2 separate regions of the Homo sapiens genome follow, and region 2 is linked to region 1. Evidence: promoter capture Hi-C in human tissues and cell types (Jung and others, 2019). All regions are on one chromosome and are shown on one strand. Each heading gives the region's core, a stretch centred on a gene start or on the middle of the fragment in contact. The rest is flanking DNA. Distances are from core to core; before and after follow the strand shown. Region 1 holds the start of SLC26A6 (solute carrier family 26 member 6). Region 2 has its middle 28 kb from the start of PLXNB1.

Region 1 (3,545 bases), core at 468-2,967:
AATGACTGTTACGACCCTGTTCACAAAACTCTTACTTTTGCTATTTTGTCTGCTGTCCAGAACTGAAGACTTTAAAATTTTGTTACTGTTTACAAGTCCAGATTCAAAAAATGTTTTTACTTTGTTTACAACTCAAAACTTTGAGTTTTACACTTTGTTTACAGTAGATAATTTTTTTTCCTTTGTTTCCAAGTGAAAGGTAGGGAAAGTGGGAGAGGGACTTGGAGGACCCACCTGTGAGGACCCTGACCTGGCCATCTTGAGGGGTTTTCTAACCCCCAGGTCTCCCAGGCCGAAGGTCAGCCTTGAGTCCCGTTTAACAGCAGATCCAGAAGACCTTGAGAGTAGGCGTCCTCTAACCACGGGGGAGAGTGGCTGTGCAGGGCTGGGGGGTGGTCTGTGCAGACACCTCCTCACCCACCACCCCATGCATACTCTTGGGAAGCAGCTTCCTGGGAGATTAGAAATTCTACTTCCCTGACTGGAGCTAAATCCCACCAGCCAGGACCCAAACTCTCCTTACCGAGAAGGACCCCAGCTCTTGAAGGGCTGAGTGGCCTGCTGGGGGTGGGAGGGTGTCTTTACTATGTCCTAGGTTTCGTAGATGCCCCTCTCTGGGGTTCCCCTCCTCCAGCCCAGCGGCCCTCTTTCCTGTCTGTGTAAATTGTTCCGTGAAGCCGCGCTCTGTTTTGGGAATAAACTTCTATAGAAAACAGTTGTTGCCTTTTCCTGTTGGGGGCTGGGGAGGTAGGATGGAAGCTGTGAATGATTCAAGCCAGACTGACCTTTGGGAGGAATCTGAGCCCCTCCCAAGAATATCCAGCTATTTTTAGCCCATTTCATGGCAGATCTCTTTCACCTTGAAATCTGGCCCCTCACTTTGTAATTGGGGCCTGATGTTGGAGCACAGGTGCTGAAAATAAGGTGCTAAGGAAAACCTCCCCGCTGGTCAAGGCAACGGCAACAGGACTTCCTAATTCTTCAGGGTCTGCAGCCCTGACCCGGCATTTTTTGCCCTCACCTGCGGTGAAACCAACCTGAGGAACTGCTCTTGCAGTTCCTGCCTTGCCCACCCAACAGCACTGACGCCCACCCAACAGCACTGACCCCCACCATTCTCCTCGGCGGCCCGCGCAGTAACCTTCTGGGAGCTACGTCCGGGCTGTGCTTAGTGCAGCGGAGGGGATCCTCCAACCATTTCTGGCCTGGGTGGCCAGAGTTAAAGGGGAGGACTTGGGGACCGTTGGCTCCGGGTCTCAAAGAGATGCGTAGTCGCAGAAAGCCTGCGGGTGGCGCTCTCAGCTGAAGGCAAGAGAGGCCCCACAGACCTGGATCCCCTACGAGTTAAGGCTGGGGTCACCGGCCAGTGGAGTTTCCTTTTCCCACTCCGTGAGCACCTTCCGCCGAGCCAGGACCTGGGATCAGCTCCAACCTACTCAGGGCCTGGGGGCGCGACTGCGGCCAGCCCGGCGCGGGTGCTTAGTTCCAGTTCTGCAGTCCCATCCAGCTCCGGGCAGAGGGCCGGGCGAGCAGCGAGAGGCCTCATAGGCCAGGTCGCCGGGGAGGAAGCGGTTAAATCCTCCTTCTCCAGTCTCTCCCCGCCCGGCGCGCGCCACTTAGGCCCCGCCCCAGCGCGCTGATTGGCCCAAGCCTCCCCGTCCTGCCCCGGGATTAGCCCCCGGGAGAGCGCAGCTGGCCTCACCCGGTCCCGGCGCCGCCTTCCGGAGCGTAGCGGCCTCTAGCTCGAGCAGCAGGAGCAGCCCGCACCGGACAACTTGCGAGCCATGGGGCTGGCGGATGCGTCGGGGTGAGTTCAGCGCACATTCCCGGTGGCCCCGCGCGAGCGCCTCGCTGGAGCAGGCATTCTCCGCTTGCGACGCCTCGCTGGAGCAGGCATTCTCCGCTTGCGACGCCTCGGTTTACCTCTGCTGATTTTCTGCAGGCGGCTGCCCCTCTGCAGCAAGGGGTGGGGGCGGGAGCCGGCGCGACCCCAGTCCCTTGGGCTGTGCGGAAAGCCGCTGGTGTGACGCCCGAGGGCCATCCCGGGCCACAGGGAGGCAGCTGCGTGCGGAGGAGCCCGGCCAGGAGATGTGCCGGCGGGGGTGCGTGGGGCACGGGAGTCCCTGGCAGCGGCCCGTGGACTAGCTGCTTTCAGCTGAGTCCCGAGTCCACCCAGCTCCACTGATCCCGGAGTGAGCGCTCCGGCCTTTCTGGCCCCAGTTGCCTTCCTACAGGGAGGGGCCAATGATCAAGGCTCCGCCCTCCAAACGCGGGTCCCAAGTTGTCGGGGGAGGGAGCCCTTTAAGAAGACCTGAGTGACTCACGTAGGAAAGGAGAGGGGGCTCTACGATCTCCTTGAGATAGCGGTCCCAAGAGTCTCTGAGGATCTTCCTTGCACCCACTCCACACTCCTCCAACAGTACAGCCAGGTTAGAGGCGCTTCCCAGGTGAGTTCCTGTCCCTCAAATGGGATCCTCTCCCCAGGTCAGGGCTTTTCCTAGATCAGAACTTTCCTGACTGGTGAAAGCTTCCCCAACAGGCTAGAGTTTTCCCCCAGGTAAGATCCTTCTGTGAGATCTATTCCCAGGTGACAGCTTTTCCCCATTCCACGTGGGAGCCTCGCCCGAGGTCAGAGCTTTCTCTATGGGAGAGTACCCCCCAGGTGAGAACCCTCTCCCTCTAGGTCTTTTCTTCCCATGTGAGATCTTTCTCTGACTTCAAGTAGGTGCCTCTGGGCAGAGGGAAGATTCCCCCTGTATCAGAACTTGCCAGGCTGATAAAGATTCCCTGGTAGGTCAGAGATCCCTCTAGGTGAGATTCCCCTTGAAAGCTTCTATTCCCAGGTGAGCTCTTTCCCCCACTTCAAGTGGGTACTTCCCTTTCCATGTGGGAGCCTCTCCCTCTAGGTGAGAGATTGCCACTCCAAGAGCAAGCTCCTTCTCAGGTGAGAGCCAGTCCTTGGCTTCCCCATAACAGGCCTGAGCCGTCTACAACCTGGACCCTGGGGCTGGAGGCCCAGGGGCAAGCTTGGCTCCAACACTTTCCTTCCCTTAGAGGGGAGGGTCTCATCTGAGGCCTGAGGCTTGGGAAAGGAGTTGCTTGAGGAGCTGGACCCCTGGTTTGCTGGACCCCTTCCCTGAGTGTGCTCTCAGCCAGCAGTGGGCTCCCGGGGCAGCTGGAGGAGGACCTGGGGACTGGAGAGGGACTGGGTGGGGGAGGGAGCAGCCTGGGACCTGGACTGGTAGAACACTCAGCACTGGGCTGCCACATCTCGGCTGGAGGTATAGCTAGTGCTCATCCTGCAGTCCCTACTTGGGGGACTTTGTCCTAGAAAGAGGCTTTCTCACCAGCCAAAGTTCAGGTACTGCCCCTGTCTGAGTTTGGACATGTGGCCCACAGATGCCAGCTGGGGGCTGGAATACTGTACCTTGATCTTAGGGCCTGGAAAAATCAGGTAGGTAACTCTCTGGTCCTAGGTGGAGGTGTAGGGGAGGTTGGGCCAGGGATGCCTTCACTGTGTCTCTCTGGTCTTGCCACCCCAGACC
Region 2 (3,545 bases), core at 751-3,250, 230 kb after region 1:
GGGAGTCTCATGGTTCCCCATCATATCCCAGACTGCAGGGCTGGCTGAGGCTCTCCTTGACGCCTGGGCAGGGTCTGGTGGGGTCAAAGCTTCCGTGAAGGAAGAACCCCATCTGGGGCAGGGCGGGTGACCGAGATAGAGGGGTCTACAGTCTCTTCAAGGGGGCCTGCTTTATCTGCAGTTTGCGTATTCTCACTTCTCCACTCATGTTCTATTTATCTTGAAAGGGACTAGGAAAGGATGACATAATTACAGGCAACTCTAGGCAGAGGGGGTCTCGAGGGCCATTTTCCATGGTCCTGTTCCTGGACTTAGGGTTTCTGTGTTGCCTTCCAAATCAGGGCATCCTAGGGCCGGCTCCTAAACTGTCTGCCTCCATGAAGGCCGCCTTATATGGTTCTTCCTGATTTGTACCTGGAGGTGAGCTTGGAGACTGTCTTATCTGGTCTCATGTTGCTAGTTGGGTCTGTAGGGCAGGGGGTTGATACTCCTCTTGACTTGAGACCACCCTCGGCCTTAGCAGAAGGCCAGCCCCCCATGGAACAGAAGAGATAGGGTGGCAGCTCTGCCTGGCAGATGAGAGGAAGGCCCTTCAGCCTTGAGGCCTTCAGAGGGATCATCCCTTTGGCCCTCTGCTTATCCTCCATAACCCAGTGACCCTTAGCATTTCCTCTCGTCTGGCACAGAGACCACAACCTCCCCTCGAGGTCTTCATTGAGTGTTTAGAGAGAGACAGACTGATAGAATTCCAGGAGGACTCCTATCCCCTGCCTTTTTTTGGCCCTAAATAAAGCCATCCACTGTAGGGTTGCCCCTACAATCCACAAAGTCCTTGTCCCTAAGGAGCCATGTTGGTCTTGTCTGTGCCGGGGGTAGTCATAGCTGCTATTCTTCGCTGTGGCTCCATTGTCCCTTCTTTCCCATTTCTGCCGGATGTGGGGACCACAGTCAGGTCAGCAGCCAGGTGCCATCATTTGGGAGCATGTGAGCTTGGATGCTCTGGCCAGGTTTTCATAGCCACCCAGAATGGTCCTGACTTTTCCCGTTGGAGACCATGGAATGGGTCTCCATCTTGACCATCTCTGGGAGCAGGGTGGATGGGAAATCCACTTGAGGGTGGACTTCAAGCAGACACAGAGGGAAGCAGCCTTGGTCAGCACCACAGACCTCGACAGAGCCATGCCTCTGTTCCAGAGGCCTCTCTGTTCCAGGTTCAGGCCCCTGCAGGTTTTAGGGGTAGGTGAAGGCTCCCGGGAGAGGGGGGCCATGTGCCTGCAAGCCTGGGCACGTGCCCGCGGGAGGGGTGAGTACTGAACGTGCTTTGAGTCACTCACTGAGTCATGGCTCAGCCGCCACAGAACATTGTTATAATAACAGACATAGAGAAGAAAAACCTGGCACAAGAAGATAGGAAATTCTGTCTTCACTCCAAACCATGACCAAGAATGGAGATTCCAACACCAGCAAGAATTTGTGATCGCTTAACTTGGGTCATGACCACAATTTCAGCATAGAACATTTGTAATTCAGTTTGATCAATCTTTTCCTAATTTTTATTAAGACTGCAACGAAAGTGTGCCCTCATTATTACATTTTTCACAAACCTGTTAGCATACAAAGGGCCTTTGTTTCTCATTACCACCCGGGGCTCCTTAAGGCGTTTTATGGAGTGATGTGCTTTATTAAAAAGCGTTTTCACCAACTTAAAAGTTGGAATAATTGTCCAAATGGTTACATGACCCAGGAGTTCTATATTTTTATTAATTTTCTGATACTGAAATAATCGTGCTAATTAAGATAACAGCTGAATTTATGCTGATGAATGTTGGAATTCTTAGAAGCCACCTGAAACCTTCCAAATGGTCAGGACCTGGATCCCACTGGCCAGTGCCAACAGGTGACTCTGGGTGGTGCTGGGGGATACAGGGAACCTAGCTGTGTTCTGCTTGGCACCAATGGCTGCTGATGCATGTGTTTCCTCCACCAGGTTCCCTAAGGATGCCACATTGAAGAACAAATACACCCCAAACTACCTAGGTCAGCTGACTGGCGATGTTTTATGGATCTCTCTTTAAAAGTGTTCTGTCGGCCAGGCGCAGTGGCTCACCCCTGTAATCCCAACACTTTGGGAGGCCGAGGCAGGCGGATCATCTGAGGTCAGGAGTTTGAGACCAGCCTGCCCAACATGGCAAAACCCCGTCTCTTCTAAAAATACAAAAAATTAGCCAGGTGTGGTGGCGGGCGCCTCTCATCCCAGCTACTCAGGAGGCTGAGACAGGAGAATCGCTTGAACCCGGGAGGCGGAGGTTGCACTGAGTCGAGATCGCGCCACTGCACTCCAGCCTGGGTGACGAGCAAAACTCCATCTCAAAAAAAAAAAAAAAAAAGTGTTCTCTGTCTTAATTAAGGATGATGGTTTATCCAATTCCAAATGTTTACCAAAAATCTAAGATAAGGATATCACCATGATGTTTGAAAGAGAATTTATGCCCTGGTTGTGATGTTGGGGTTTTATTGATAAGAGTTTCAGTTATCTGGATGATATGTGCACGTGTAAGGAAACAGAATGGTTTGCCAGTTGTCCAGGTGGCCATGAAGAGAACCTCTGGAGGTCTAGGAATGTGAAGCTCAGATTTTGGAAACCTGGTCCGGTGTCCTGGGCCACAGGTAAGTGGCTGAAGCTGGTGGTTTGCTGCCATCTTCTGGCCATAGTGTGGAATTTATCAGAAGCAGCTACCAATGAGGGTGTCTGGAGCTCTATAAATTGCAAGCCTGGGCAAGATAGCCAGACCCCATCTTTACGAAAACTGTTTAAAAATTAGCTGGGCATGGTAGCACACATCTGTAGTCTCAGCTATTTAAGAGGTTGAGGTGGGAGGATTGCTGGACTCCAGGAGTTTGAGGCTGCAGTGAAAGATTATGCCACTCCACTCCAGACTGGGTGACAGTGAGACCCTGTCTCTTCAAAAAAAGAGAGAGAGAAATCACAACAGTGGAATTCAGTAGTGCTGGAGCTTAGTGAGTAATCTTACCCTGTCTTTAACGTGAATTCTGGTTTTAGGGTGAGCTATGTCTTAGGACATAGTTGAGATAACAGTGAGTGACTAGTCAAGAAAACAGCCGGGCACAGTGGCTCACACCTGTAATCCCAGCACTTTGGGAGGCCAAGGTGGGTGGATCACTTGAGGTCAGGAGTTCGAGACCACCCTGATCAACATGGTGAAACCCCATCTCTACTGAAAATACAGAAATTAGCCGGGTGTGATTGTGTGCACCTGTGATCCCAGCTACTGGGGAGGCTGAGGAAGGAAAATCACTTGAACCTGGGAGGCAGAGGTTTCAGTGAGCTGAGATTATGCCACCACACTCCAGCCTGAGCTGAGATTATGCCACCACACTCCAGCCTGAGCTGAGATTATGCCACCACACTCCAGCCTGAGCAGCAGAATGAGACTCTGTCTCAAAAAGAAAACAACAACAACAACAACAAAAAACCAGAAACCACTCTAGGTGTTTCCAATGGAAGGAATTTAAATATAAGGGAT

Evidence for each region. The method cuts DNA at HindIII sites, captures the fragments that hold promoters and counts their contacts. A contact is called where the count stands out against the background at its distance.
Region 2: a fragment that was not itself captured here is called in contact with the fragment with the promoter of SLC26A6 in region 1 in 1 of the 25 tissues and cell types used here (spleen).

Annotation. Positions count from the first base shown.
Region 1 is chr3:48,633,633-48,637,177 of GRCh38, reverse strand. It overlaps SLC26A6 (solute carrier family 26 member 6), which reads left to right and starts at 1,717. Exons shown (of 21, transcript NM_022911.3): 1 at 1,717-1,807; 2 at 3,543-3,545. The coding sequence starts at 1,785. It overlaps CELSR3 (cadherin EGF LAG seven-pass G-type receptor 3), which reads left to right. Exons shown (of 35, transcript NM_001407.3): 35 at 1-715. It overlaps MIR6824 (microRNA 6824), which reads left to right and starts at 3,480; the gene lies at 3,480-3,542. RefSeq lists silencers at 1,509-1,788, 2,179-2,278. The HindIII fragment of the contact is 9,287 bases long and covers 1-2,679 here.
Region 2 is chr3:48,400,212-48,403,756 of GRCh38, reverse strand. No RefSeq gene overlaps it. Among named protein-coding and RNA genes, the nearest start is that of PLXNB1, 28 kb to the left of the region's middle. The HindIII fragment of the contact is 5,455 bases long and covers 1-3,545 here.